3 separate regions of the Homo sapiens genome follow, and all the other regions are linked to region 3. Evidence: promoter capture Hi-C in 16 types of primary human blood cells and fetal thymus (Javierre and others, 2016). All regions are on one chromosome and are shown on one strand. The core of a region is centred on a gene start or on the middle of the fragment in contact, and the rest is flanking DNA. Distances in the headings are between cores, read along the strand shown.

Region 1 (4,152 bases), core at 1-2,500, 330 kb before region 3:
TAGCCTGGGTGACAGAGCGAGACTCCATCTCAAAAAAAAAAAAAAAAAAGGACAACTTCCCAGACTCATTTTATAAGCCCAGCATTATCCCCATACAGAAACCAGGACTAAAAAAGAAAACTATGCAACTTTGTTGAACACAACTGCAAAAATCCTCAACAAACACATTTGACTCTTATGACCCATGGCAGCTAGTGTATAAAGTTGCTGCAAACACTGAATTAAAGAATATGCTAAACTATTGCTCCTAAGGGAAATGCAAAGTTCTGTTCCTGCAAGCTTCTGGTCACATTTTTGTTAAATGATCAATATATTAATAAAACCTTCTTTTATGTGTATTTTTGTTTAAGGGCACCTTACTTAATATGTATTGTATCACTAACATTGAACTCATGGCCAACAGCGCTAACTCTTGCACGAATGAAGCTTATCCAATGTGTGTTTTCTCTGTAAAGTGCATCTCAGCCTTCTTGCATTTCTGCACTATGCTGAGACGCCATTATAAACAGTGAAATCACCAAGAAAAAGCACAAAAATGCACACACATGACACCAAATATGCTACCAGTAAAGAGAGTCCCGATTGAGACCCCAAGAGGGTTCTTGGATCTCACACAGAAAGGAATTCACCGCCCCCCCGCATTCCCCCACCCTATTCCCCGCCCCCCAACACCCCCAGCCCCACCCAGCCCGGCCCTGGCTCCGCGCCTCCCCCAGCCCCGCCCCGCTTCAGAGGCCCGGACCCCGACGGCGGCGGCCCCGGGACCCACGGCGAGCGGGAAAGGCAGAGTGGCTGCAAATGGAAAACGACGGGCGCCGCGGGGCTGCAGGCGCTTCCGCCCCCGCCCCGGGCCTGGACCTTCGGGGTCACCTGACTCCGACCTGCCCGGGCCGGGCGGCACGGGGGGTAAAGTCCGGGCCGGGGTCAGGAGCGCGGCTGCGGGCCGTGGGGGGCGGGGTCCCGGAGTTCTGCCCCTCGCAGCTCCAGGCTCCTCCTCAGCTTCCCTCTCCTGCCTCCCACCCCCCCGGGGGCGGGGCGACCCTGGGCACCGAGACAGACCCGCGGGTGGGAGATGCGGGGAGACCCTGGGCGGGGGACCCGAGGGTGGAGTGGGCGGGGCGACCTTGGGCGCTGGCCTCAGCCTGCGGGCCCTGGAGCCAGGTGCACAGCGCATCGCCCGAGGCTGTCACCGCCCTGCCCCGCCCACCCCAGCTGTCCTGGACCCAGGGGCAGGGAGAGGCTGGACGCCAGGTGCGCGGACACAGAAGCGTCTAAGCACAGCTTCCTCCTTGCCGCTCCGGGAAGTGGGCAGCCAGCCCAGGTGAGGGTCCAAAGGGATGTCCTGGGGGGGCTGTCCTGGTCTGGGGGGCTGTCCTGGTCTGGGGGGCTGTCCTGGTCTGGGGGGCTGTCCTGGTCTGGGGGGGCTGTCCTGGTCTGGGGGGCTGTCCTGGTCTGGGGGGGCTGTCCTGGTCTGGGGGACTGTTCTGTCTGAGGGGGTGTCCTGGTCTGGGGGGGCTGTCCTGGTCTGGGGGGCTGTCCTGGTCTGGGGGGCTGTCCTGGTCTGGGGGGCTGTCCTGGTCTGGGGGGGCTGTCCTGGTCTGGGGGGCTGTCCTGGTCTGGGGGGGCTGTCCTGGTCTGGGGGACTGTTCTGTCTGAGGGGGTGTCCTGGTCTGGGGGGGCTGTCCTGGTCTGGGGGGCTGTCCTGGTCTGGGGGGCTGTCCTGGTCTGGGGGGGGCTGTCCTGGTCTGGGGGGCTGTCCTGGTCTGGGGGGGCTGTCCTGGTCTGGGGGGCTGTCCTGGTCTGGGGGGGCTGTCCTGGTCTGGGGGACTGTTCTGTCTGAGGGGGTGTCCTGGTCTGGGGGGGCTGTCCTGGTCTGGGGGGCTGTCCTGGTCTGGGGGGGCTGTCCTGGTCTGGGGGGGGCTGTCCTGGTCTGGGGGGCTGTCCTGGTCTGGGGGGGCTGTCCTGGTCTGGGGGGCTGTCCTGGTCTGGGGGGGCTGTCCTGGTCTGGGGGACTGTTCTGTCTGAGGGGGTGTCCTGGTCTGGGGGGCTCTCCTGGTCTGGGGGGGGCTGTCCTGGTCTGGGGGGCTGTCCTGGTCTGGGGGACTGTTCTGTCTGAGGGGGTGTCCTGGCCTGGGGGGCTCTCCTGGTCTGGGGGGGGGCTGTCCTGGTCTGGGGGGCTGTCCTGGTCTGGGGGGGGCTGTCCTGGTCTGGGGGCTGTCCTGGTCTGGGAATCTGTTCTGTGTGAGGGGGTGTCCTGGTCTGGGGGGCTCTCCTGGTCTGGGGGGGGCTGTCCTGGTCTGGCGGGGGCTGTCCTGGTCTGGGGGGCTGTCCTGGTCTGGGGGGCTGTCCTGATCTGGGAGTCTGTTCTGTGTGAGGGGGTGTCCTGGTCTGGGGGGGCTGTCCTGGTCTCAGGGACTGTTCTGTGTGAGGGGATGTCCTGGCCTGGGGGACTCTCCTGGTCTGGGGGGGCTGTCCTGGTCTGGGGGGGCTGTCCTGGTCTGGGGGGCTGTCCTGGTCTGGGGGGGCTGTCCTGGTCTGGGGGACTGTTCTGTCTGAGGGGGTGTCCTGGTCTGGGGGGCTCTCCTGGTCTGGGGGGGGCTGTCCTGGTCTGGGGGGCTGTCCTGGTCTGGGGGACTGTTCTGTCTGAGGGGGTGTCCTGGTCTGGGGGGCTCTCCTGGTCTGGGGGCACTGTCCTGGTCTCGGGGGGGCTGTTCTGGTCTGGGGGGCGCTTTCCTGGTCTGAGGAGCTGTTCTGATCTGGGAGGCTGTTCTGGTCTTGGGGGTCTTTTGAGTGTGGGAGAGGTTGCCCCAACCTCTTTGCCTACCTGGAGGCTCAGGCCTGGGGGTCTCAGGTGGCTACATCTTCTGGGTGTGGAGTCCCTGTGTTCCTGGCCCCTGTCACCTGTTTGTCCCTATGAGGTGGCCTATGGCCTGGGTGCTGGTTGGGGACACAGGCTGGGCCCTGTCTGGGCTGGACCGGCCTCCTGTCCTCTCTGAGCCTCTGTCATCTACCCTCCTTAAAATGGGCTTATATCCCCCGGACATACAGAATTGCGTGAGGACCCCACAGCGTGTCCCACTTTCCACGTGCCCAGGAGCCCCAGGTCAGGACCAGGGCAGCACCCGCGCCTGCCACTCAGTGTGGGTGCAACGTTTCCCGGGGGAACACGATAGGACACGGTCACATGGGGTTCAGGTGCCGGGACCTTGGCAGGCAGCCTCTGGCTTTGACCACTCCTTTGGCAGTGGTACCCGTGTGAAGTGGGGCTGTATGGGGCACAGGGTCGGCCTGGGGTAGTTTGAGAGCTGAGACCCTTGCTGGGCGTTTGGGCAGAGGAGGAGGTGGACACCTCGGCCACAGGGCTAGAGAAGCCCAGGCCCCTCAGATGGCATCCCTGGGTCCACCTCCCGACCAGGCGCCATCTGGCACCAGCTAAGAAGGTGCAGAGTCAGATTAGGGAAGCCTTGGGCTGGATTTCCAGAGAAACCGATGTTGTTAAGAAGCCTCACACTCGGCTTCCTAGGATGGCTGGCCTCACCCTGGGTTCACCCACAGCCCCTCGGCAACAGTCCCCTCAGGGCTCCAGAGAGAAACCCCCACCCTAGGAGTGCCTGGGGTGGGGGCCGCAGAGAGGAGGCAGAGCCCTGGGCCCCCAGTGCAGGCTGGAGCTGTGGCTGCTCCTGGGGAGGGTGGCACGGGAGAGGCAGGACCGAGGGGTGGGGACACAGGGTGGCCCCATCACATGGTGGGGGCAGCTCCGCGAGTCCCATCCGAGGGGGTCCGAGGGGGCTACTTGGATCCTGCTGGGGCTGTGTCCCCAGACGAGGCCTCTGCTGCCCCCCGCCCCCCTCCCACAGGGCCCTCTGATGCCCATGGCACCCCTGGCAGGCGTGGCTCCTGGGGAGTGGTCCTTGGCCACGGGAGGCGTCTGAGCCCCGGGGATGCCTCTATGGCCACGGGAGACCGTCTGAGCCCCGGGGATGCCTCTATGGCCACGGGAGGCCGTCTGAGCCCCGGGGATGCCTCTATGGCCACGGGAGGCCGTCTGAGCCCCGGAGATGCCTCTATGGCCACGGGAGGCCGCCTGAGCCCCGGAGATGCCTCTAAGGCCACGGGAGACCGTCTGAGCCCCGGGGATGCCTCTATGGCCAC
Region 2 (4,038 bases), core at 891-3,390, 370 kb after region 3:
GAATACAGAGAAAAACTACTGTGTTCAGAAGTTACCAGGGGCAGTCCTTTCCCCTTCAGTGTGGCTGTCATTTATCTATAATGCAACTATATCCCATGTTTGGAATTTGTTTATTTTACTTTTGAGTATAACAGTATAACATACCAAATTACTTTGATTCCAAAGTCAAAACTATACAAAAACGTTTACTCAAAAAAGTCTAACTTCATCCCCCCACCCTGTTCCAGCTCCCCACCCCAGCAGGGAACTAGTCTCATTAGACTCTGAGGTTTATCCTTTGTTTTTGTTTGTTTGTTTGTTTGTGTGTTTGTTTGTTTTTTGAGACGGAGTCTTACTCACTCTGTCACCCAGGCTGGAGTGCAGTGGCGCAATCTCGGCTCACTGCAACCTCTGCCTCCCGGGTTCAAGCGATTCTCCTGCCTCCGCCTCCCGAGTAGCTGGGATTACAGGCTTGCGCCACCACCACGCCCGGCTAATTTTTGTACTTTTACTAGAGATGGGGTTTCACTAAGTTGGCCAGGCTGGTCTCGAACTCCTGACCTCAGGTGATCTGCCCGCCTCGGCCTCCCAAAGTGCTGGGATTATAGGCATGAGCCACCACACCCGGCTGATGTAGCGTGCTGTTTTGTGGCTGCCTCGAGAACCAGGCTCCCCGCAGCCCTTAGGGACACTAGTGGGGCTGGCAGGTGTTTCCTTCTCAGAGGCCTGGCCCAGCTGCTCGGCTTCCTCCTTTTTGTATTTTTATTTTATTTTAGAGATGGGGTCTTGCTCCATCACCCAGGCTGGAGAGGAGTGGCACGATCACAGCTCACTGCAGCCTCAACCTCCTGGGCTCAAGCAATCCTCCTACCTCAGCTTCCTGAGTAGCTGGGACTACAGGAGCACGCCACCATGTCCAGCTAATTTTTAAACTTGCTTGTAGAGACGAAGTCTTGCTATGTCGCCCAGGCTGGTCTCAAACTCCTGGACTCAAGTGATCCTCCCGCCTCAGCCTCCTGAAGTGCTGGGATTACCGCGAGCAGCCACGGCTCCCTCCTGAAGGCTCCAGGCCTAAGTGTCCCGCTCCCTTGTTCTGTGGCTCAGCCCCTGGGCAACTCCTGCTTGCCATGGCTGTGGCTGGCACCTCCGTGGCCCCACTGCCCGGTCAGTCTTCGCAGGCCCAGCCCCCAGTAGCTGTGTGGTTTCTGCCTTCCTCCTGCACTCTGGTGGTCACAGGCCCTGCTGCGTGGGTACAGGGCAGGTGGCCAGGGCTGCAGCATAAGCTCTGTGAGTGCAGGCGGCCCTGGGCACTGGAGCCTTGTTGCATGGACGTGCTCCTTGCACCCTTGTTGATGAATGAGCGAAGGTGTGTGGGAGTGAATCCCAGAGGGTGCAGGCCACGGCACTGGGGGAGGACCCTCCCGGCTGCCTCCCAGTGGGCTTCAGGGGCTCAGATAGACCCTGCCGAGCACCTCTGTCCTCTGCTCCCGGACTGGGGCTGCAGAGAGCTCTCAAGGGGCCTTGGGAGGCACAAGCAGGCCAGGGTCCCAGGGAGGGGAGGCAGGAGGCAGCAGGGCCGGATGGTGGGCTGCAGAGGTGGAAGGAACAGGACAGTCTGTTCTGGGGGTGCTGGCTGTGGGGGACAGAGGCCAGGCCACAAAGCAGAATGGTGGGTGGGCCAGGAGGAGGTGGGAGCCTTTTTCAAAAGGCTTTCAGGGACTTTTTATATTTAATGATTGAAACAAAAGATATCCAAAACCGCAGTTCCTGAGAACCACTTGTTCTCGCCCTGGTTCCTCTCCTTGGGCTTGACCTTGGCCTCCTGCCGGGCCTGGCAGCGGACAGCAGTCTCCCTGCTTCCCAGGCTGGGCGAGGGAGAGCGTGGGTCCCCAGGAACGGGGGAGGTGGTGCGGCTGGCTTTAGGATGCCCATTCTGGAACCTTCTGGTGGAAGAAAGCAGGGGATCAGTATAGTATGGTTGATCCACACACTCCAGACCCTCTCCTGGCTGTGCAGCTGGTCTGATCTGGGCTCAGAGGCTGCCACTGCTCAGTGCTCCCCTGGGTAATTTTGCAGGAGGCCAGGAGGGTTCCTGGCAGTTAGTGCCACCCACACGGAGAAATTCAGAGCCATATAAACGGGTCTCCAGGGCCTGGAGGGACTGCACATCCTGGGCCTGCGGCGCAGTGTAGACCTGGGAGGATGGGCGGCCTGCTGCTGGCTGCTTTTCTGGCTTTGGTCTCGGTGCCCAGGGCCCAGGCCGTGTGGTTGGGAAGACTGGACCCTGAGCAGGTACAGTCCTCCTGGGGGTGGGGAGAGCTGGTCCTCGGGGGCCAGCCCCTCCTTTAAGGCCACACAGCTTCTGGGCCCCCCAGGGCTAGCCCAGACCAGCATGAGCAGTGGGGAATTAGTTGGGCCAGCCCTTGGGGAGTCCCACAGGCAGGAGCCTCAGGGCAGGAGGGGTGGATGCTGGAGGGTTGGAGGCTGGAGGGCTGGAGAATTGGAGGCTGGAGACTGGAGGTTGCAGGGCTGGAGGGTGTAGGGTTGGAGAACTGGAGGCTGGAGGGCTGGAGGCTGTAGGGCTGGAGAACTGGAGGCTGGAGGCTGCTGGGCTGGAGGCTGGAGGGCTGTAGAACTGGAGGCTGGAGGGCTGGAGGCTGGAGGGCTGCAGAACTGGAGGCTGGAGGGCTGGAGAGCTGGAGACTAGAGGCTGCAGGGCTGCAGGCTGGAGGTTGGAAGGCTGGAGGGCTGGAGCCTAGAGGCTGTAGGGCTGGAAGGCTGGAGGCTGGAGGGTTGGAGGTCTGGGGGGTTGGAAGCTGGAGGCTGGAGGGCTGGAGAACTGAAGGCTAGAGGCTGCAAGGCTGGAAGGTTGGAGGCTGGAGGGCGGGAGGGTTGGAGACTGGAGGCTGGAGGGCTGGATGGTTGGAGGGTGGAGGCTGGAGGCTGCAGGGCTGGAAGGCTGGAGGCTGGAGGGTTGGAGGCTGGAGGCTGGAGGGCTGGATGGTTGGAGGGTGGAGGCTGAGGCTGGAGGTTTGGAGGCTGGAGGCTGAGGCTGGAGGGTTGGAGGCTGGAGGCTGGAGGCTGGAGGGCTGGCGGCCCTAACGGGAGCCGCCTCAATGCAGCTTCTTGGGCCCTGGTACGTGCTTGCGGTGGCCTCCCGGGAAAAGGGCTTTGCCATGGAGAAGGACATGAAGAACGTCGTGGGGGTGGTGGTGACCCTCACTCCAGAAAACAACCTGCGGACGCTGTCCTCTCAGCACGGGTGAGTGGGCGGGTCCTGCCAGGCCTTCCCGCAGGCAGGACTGTGGCTCAGCCACATCATGTACTTTGCACATCTGCTCCCGGGCACCGCGGCCTGGGGGCTTCCCACGGCCCCTCTGCACCCCCGTCACTTTTCCCACTGGGCTCTGTGCAGAGCCACCAGCCCTCTGCCCAGCTACTCACATCTGTGTCCCTGGGGCCTCCAGGTGGCACTCCCACCTTCAATACCGCGGCGGGCACTGCTCTGACTATGCTCCTTCATGCATCCCTGTCCTGGGTCATCTGGGCTGCAGGCTGTGGTCAGAGCTGGGGAAGCCTGTCCTCTCAGCAGGCCTTTTTCGGGAATTCTGTTTAAAGGAGGATAATGCATTCGGACCTAAGAACCACTGGTTCTTTCATAACATAAATCCCCAAACAATATGGTCATGGACGCTGTTGGCCAGACTGGCCTTGTGGCCTCAGGCAGGCGCACCCGACCACATGCATGGCTGGTGGCGGCGTGCAGGGGTCGGGTGGGCCAGGCTGTGGGGCGGCCGTGCTACACAGGGGACACCTACAGGGCAGCCGGGCTGTGGGGGTAGCCGTGCTGGGGCAGGAGTCGGTGCCCGCCTCCCTTCACAGAAGAGTGGCCTGCTGGGTGGCGTGGTGGGTGTCTACCCCCTGGCAGGCTGGCGACAGAGCCCAGGCCTGAACCACTGAGCCAGGTACGGGGCCCAGAGAGAAGAACCTGCCCTCCTCACCAGCGTGCCTTCCCCCTGCACCTGCGCCTGCAGGGTATGGGCAGGGGCCCCACTGCAC
Region 3 (4,008 bases), core at 1,356-3,855:
TTGGGTGACCTACTGTGCCCTGCACAGGCTGACGAGGGCCCTGGCGATGCAGACCTGGGGTCCTCCTGCAGAAGTTGGGCCCCTTCACATGTCAGGTTGCTGTGCCAGTGAAGGGGTGGCCAGCCCCTCCACACCTGTGGGTGTTTCTCGTCAGGTGGGATGAGAGACTGAGAAAAGAAATAAGACACAGAGACAAAGTATAGAGAAGGCAGTGGGCCCAGGAGACGGCGCTCAGTATACGGAGGACCCGCACCGGCCCCGGTCTCTGAGTTCCCTCAGTATTTATTCATTACCATTTTCACTATCTTTGCATGAGGAATGCGGCAGCAGAGCAGAGGTCAGCAAGAAAATGTGAGCAAAGGCATCTGTGTCACAAATAGCTTGAAGGGAAGGTGCTGTGCCCGGATGTGCACGTAGGCCAGATTCATGCTTCTCTCCACCCAAACATCTCAGTGTAGCAGAGTAACAGAGCAGCATTGCCGCCAGCATATCTCGCCTCCAGCCACAGGGCGGTTTTCTCCTGTCTCAGAATAGAACTAATGTACGATCGGGTTTTACACGGAGACATTCCGTTCCCAGGGGCATGTCGGAGACAGAAGCCTTCCTCTTATCTCAACTGCAAAGAGGCCTCCCTCTTTCACTAATCCTCCTCAGCACAGACCCTTTATGGGTGTCGGGCTGGGGGACGATCAGGTCTTTCCCTTCCCACGAGGCCATATCTCAGGCCGTCTCACTGGGGGGAAACCTGGACAATACCCAGGCTTTCTTGGGCAGAGGTCCCTGCGGCTTTCCGCAGTGCACTGTGTCCCTGGTTAATGGAGAATGGAGGATGGCGATGACTTTTACCAAGCATACTGCCTGCAAACACATTGTTAACAAAGCACATCCTGCACAGCCCTAAATCCCCTAAACCTTGAGTCAATACAGCACATGTTTCTGTGGGCACAGGGATGGGGCTAAGGTTACAGGTTACCAGCACAGGCCTAGATGCCTTAAACCTTGATTCCATACAGCATATGTTTCTGTGGGCACAGGGATGTGGGCAGGGGACTGTGGCCACCCTCACCCCTGGCAGAGCCATGCTGGGTAGCCCCATGCCCACCCTTCCCGGCTTGGGAGGCCCTGGCTGCTGCCCAGAGGGGCATCAATGCCTGGGCCGTGGACAAGAGGGAAAGTGGCTTCCTTGGAAACCCTGCTCCTGGAGCCCTCCCTGAGGCTCTGGCCCCTCTGTGGGCCCAGCCAAGCCTGGAGCGTCTCCAGGCTCTGGTGTGCTTGGGGAGCTGGCCAGCTCTCGGCCTAGCTGGCGTCTCCAGAGCTGCGGTCCTGGGTGAGGGTTGCTGGTGGAGTTCTGGCCACCTAAGGCACCCGAGGGAGCCAAAGGAGCAGAGGTGTGGGGTGGGGGACGCCGTGGGGTACCTCCACATCCAAGGAGGTCTGCTGTTTGTCCTCACCCCCGTCCTGCGGGGGCCCCGGCAGGCAGCCCCAGGAACTGCGTAGGGATGGGACAGGGCCCAGATGTGAGGGCCGTGGTGGGGACGGTGTGTGGCCCTGGATGACCTCGTGTTGCAGTGTGACGTGATGGTCACTGCCACCATGCTGAGGGCCCCAGCCACCAGTCACCCACCATGGGGGGTGCCTCTGTGTGAGGCACGGGAGGGCCATGGCGTGAGGGGCTGTGGAAGTGGCCGGTCTTCTCCGCTCAGCCCCACACAGGATGGGCAGGGCAGGGTCATGCTGGCCGAGGGTAGTCTTGGGAGAAGGACAGGGTAACTCTCTGTAGCTGAGCCCCTGCTGCCCCTGCACCTGTTCTGGGCCTGGCTAGCGGCCCATGTACATCCCCAGCAGGACTCCACGTAGCTAGTCTGGCACCCACCACTACGGCCCCCTCACCCACTCCCTGAACTGGACGCTGGGGAAAGGTGACTTCTTCCATCCTCTGGGTGCTCCCCAGGGAGGAGGCCCCAGCTCCCAGCAGAGGCCTCTGGTCCCCCCTTGTCCCTGCAGGGCTGTGTGGGCACACTGGGTGCCAGTCGGAAGGGCAGGTGGCGATTCCCAGCTCTTGGGAGCTACCCGGCCACATCCCGGCCCTGCCCAGACGCTCCAGGGGCACCCCACACTCCTGCCCGCTGCGAGGCCCCGCCCCGCCAAGCCCAGCCCGTTATCGCTTGGACAAACCCTGGGTTGCTTTCTTCGGGGGGCCAGCACTCTGTTTGGGACCCTCTCCCTCCCGCCCTTAGGGCAGCAGAACGGCCCCCACTCTCCCGGCCCTGCCTTGGAGTGGGGCACCTGCCAGGAGCAAGTGCTGGGGAGGCTTGGCGGGCGCAGCAGGGACTCGCCCTAGCGCAGCTCCGGATGGGGCCGCGGTAGGAGGACGAGCCAGTGGGGCGGGAGGCCGCGGAGATGGCCCGGGGGCCCTCTGCTTCCCCGCGCCGTGCCCGGGAAGGACCCCTGGGCAGCGGCCGCGGGGCGCGGGGTGTTGGGGGGCACAGCCCCGGCGCGGCGCTGAAGCAGCGACGGTCTCCGTGGGGACCGCGGGCGCCCGAAACACGTGGGGCCTGGAGGGAGGAGCGCGCCCTGGCGGCCCCGTGACCCCGCCCACGTGACGGGCGCCCGCGGAAGGCGACATGGGCTCCGCTCCCTGGGCCCCGGTCCTGCTGCTGGCGCTCGGGCTGCGCGGCCTCCAGGCGGGGGGTGAGTGGCGGCGCCCCCCGGCCCATTCCCCGGTCCCGGCCCCGCCTCTGAGGTTCGCGTCCCCCCACAGCCCGCAGGGCCCCGGACCCCGGCTTCCAGGAGCGCTTCTTCCAGCAGCGTCTGGACCACTTCAACTTCGAGCGCTTCGGCAACAAGACCTTCCCTCAGCGCTTCCTGGTGTCGGGTGAGACCCCGGCCCCGGCCCGGCCGCCCCCGCCGTCCCGCCGCCCCCCGGCACCCTCGCCTCATCCGCCCTCCCCACAGACAGGTTCTGGGTCCGGGGCGAGGGGCCCATCTTCTTCTACACTGGGAACGAGGGCGACGTGTGGGCCTTCGCCAACAACTCGGCCTTCGTCGCGGAGCTGGCGGCCGAGCGGGGGGCTCTACTGGTCTTCGCGGAGCACGTGGGTGCCGGGCGGGGTCGCGGGCGGGGTCGCGGGGCACGTGGGTGCCGGGCGGGGTCGCGGGCGGGGGTCGCGGGGCACGCGGGTGCCGGGCGGGGTCGCGGGCGGGGGTCGCGGGGCACGCGGGTGCCGGGCGGGGTCGCGGGCGGGGGTCGCGGGGCACGCGGGTGCCGGGCGGGGTCGCGGGGCCGGGCTCAATGGCACGTTCCCCCAGCGCTACTACGGGAAGTCGCTGCCGTTCGGTGCGCAGTCCACGCAGCGCGGGCACACGGAGCTGCTGACGGTGGAGCAGGCCCTGGCCGACTTCGCAGAGCTGCTCCGCGCGCTACGACGCGACCTCGGGGCCCAGGATGCCCCCGCCATCGCCTTCGGTGGAAGGTGGGCGCCTCCCCCGGCCTCCGCACCCCCTCCCTCCCCTGCCCCGACCCAGCGCCCCCAGCCCTTCTCCCCACTCCCCTCTGACTCCCACCGCTGCCTTTTCGTAAGGCCTCAGGCAGTGGTTCCAGGCTTAGTGTTGCCTCCCCCAGGAAGCCCTCCCACCTGTCCTCCCAGCCACCTGCTCAGCTTGGATGTGCGGCCACACTAGCGGCCTTTCCCAGTGAGAGCTGCACCCGCACCTGGCCCAGGGTTGGAATTTGTGGGTCTCAGAAGTGTCGTCCTCCTTGTGGCACCTGTGGGCCCCTGAGGAGGAAAAGAGGAAATGGGGTGTTGGGGGCAGCAGCCCTAACCCTGTGTCCCTCACCCAGTTATGGGGGGATGCTCAGTGCCTACCTGAGGATGAAGTATCCCCACCTGGTGGCGGGGGCGCTGGCGGCCAGCGCGCCCGTTCTAGCTGTGGCAGGCCTCGGCGACTCCAACCAGTTCTTCCGGGACGTCACGGCGGTGAGTGAGGCTTGGGGTCCTCCAGGCCCCC

What was found. The method cuts DNA at HindIII sites, captures the fragments that hold promoters and counts their contacts. A CHiCAGO score of 5 or more calls a contact.
Region 1: a contact is called between the fragment with the promoter of ENTPD8 here and the fragment with the promoter of DPP7 in region 3, in 3 of 17 cell types (non-activated CD4 T cells, erythroblasts and M1 macrophages). The highest score is 6.6, in non-activated CD4 T cells.
Region 2: the fragment with the promoter of LCN6 here is called in contact with the fragment with the promoter of DPP7 in region 3 in 4 of 17 cell types (neutrophils, endothelial precursors, monocytes and 1 more); the score reaches 7.8 in neutrophils.

Annotation. Positions count from the first base shown.
Region 1 is chr9:137,438,455-137,442,606 of GRCh38, reverse strand. It overlaps ENTPD8 (ectonucleoside triphosphate diphosphohydrolase 8), which reads left to right and starts at 1,250. Exons shown (of 10, transcript NM_001033113.2): 1 at 1,250-1,321. RefSeq lists a silencer at 1,096-1,390. The HindIII fragment of the contact is 13,084 bases long and covers 429-4,152 here.
Region 2 is chr9:136,746,627-136,750,664 of GRCh38, reverse strand. LCN6 (lipocalin 6) reads left to right here and starts at 2,140. Exons shown (of 7, transcript NM_198946.3): 1 at 2,140-2,271; 2 at 3,102-3,241. The coding sequence starts at 2,182. LOC100128593 (a long non-coding RNA gene) reads right to left here. Exons shown (of 3, transcript NR_033913.1): 2 at 2,093-3,587; 3 at 754-1,919. MIR6722 (microRNA 6722) reads left to right here and starts at 3,695; the gene lies at 3,695-3,772. The HindIII fragment of the contact is 9,973 bases long and covers 1-4,038 here.
Region 3 is chr9:137,113,330-137,117,337 of GRCh38, reverse strand. It overlaps DPP7 (dipeptidyl peptidase 7), which reads left to right and starts at 2,605. Exons shown (of 13, transcript NM_013379.3): 1 at 2,605-2,691; 2 at 2,762-2,875; 3 at 2,956-3,095; 4 at 3,310-3,473; 5 at 3,842-3,977. The coding sequence starts at 2,625. It overlaps LOC124902314 (a long non-coding RNA gene), which reads right to left and starts at 2,539. Exons shown (of 2, transcript XR_007061874.1): 1 at 294-2,539; 2 at 1-167. RefSeq lists silencers at 2,380-2,729, 2,760-2,909. The HindIII fragment of the contact is 32,578 bases long and covers 1-4,008 here.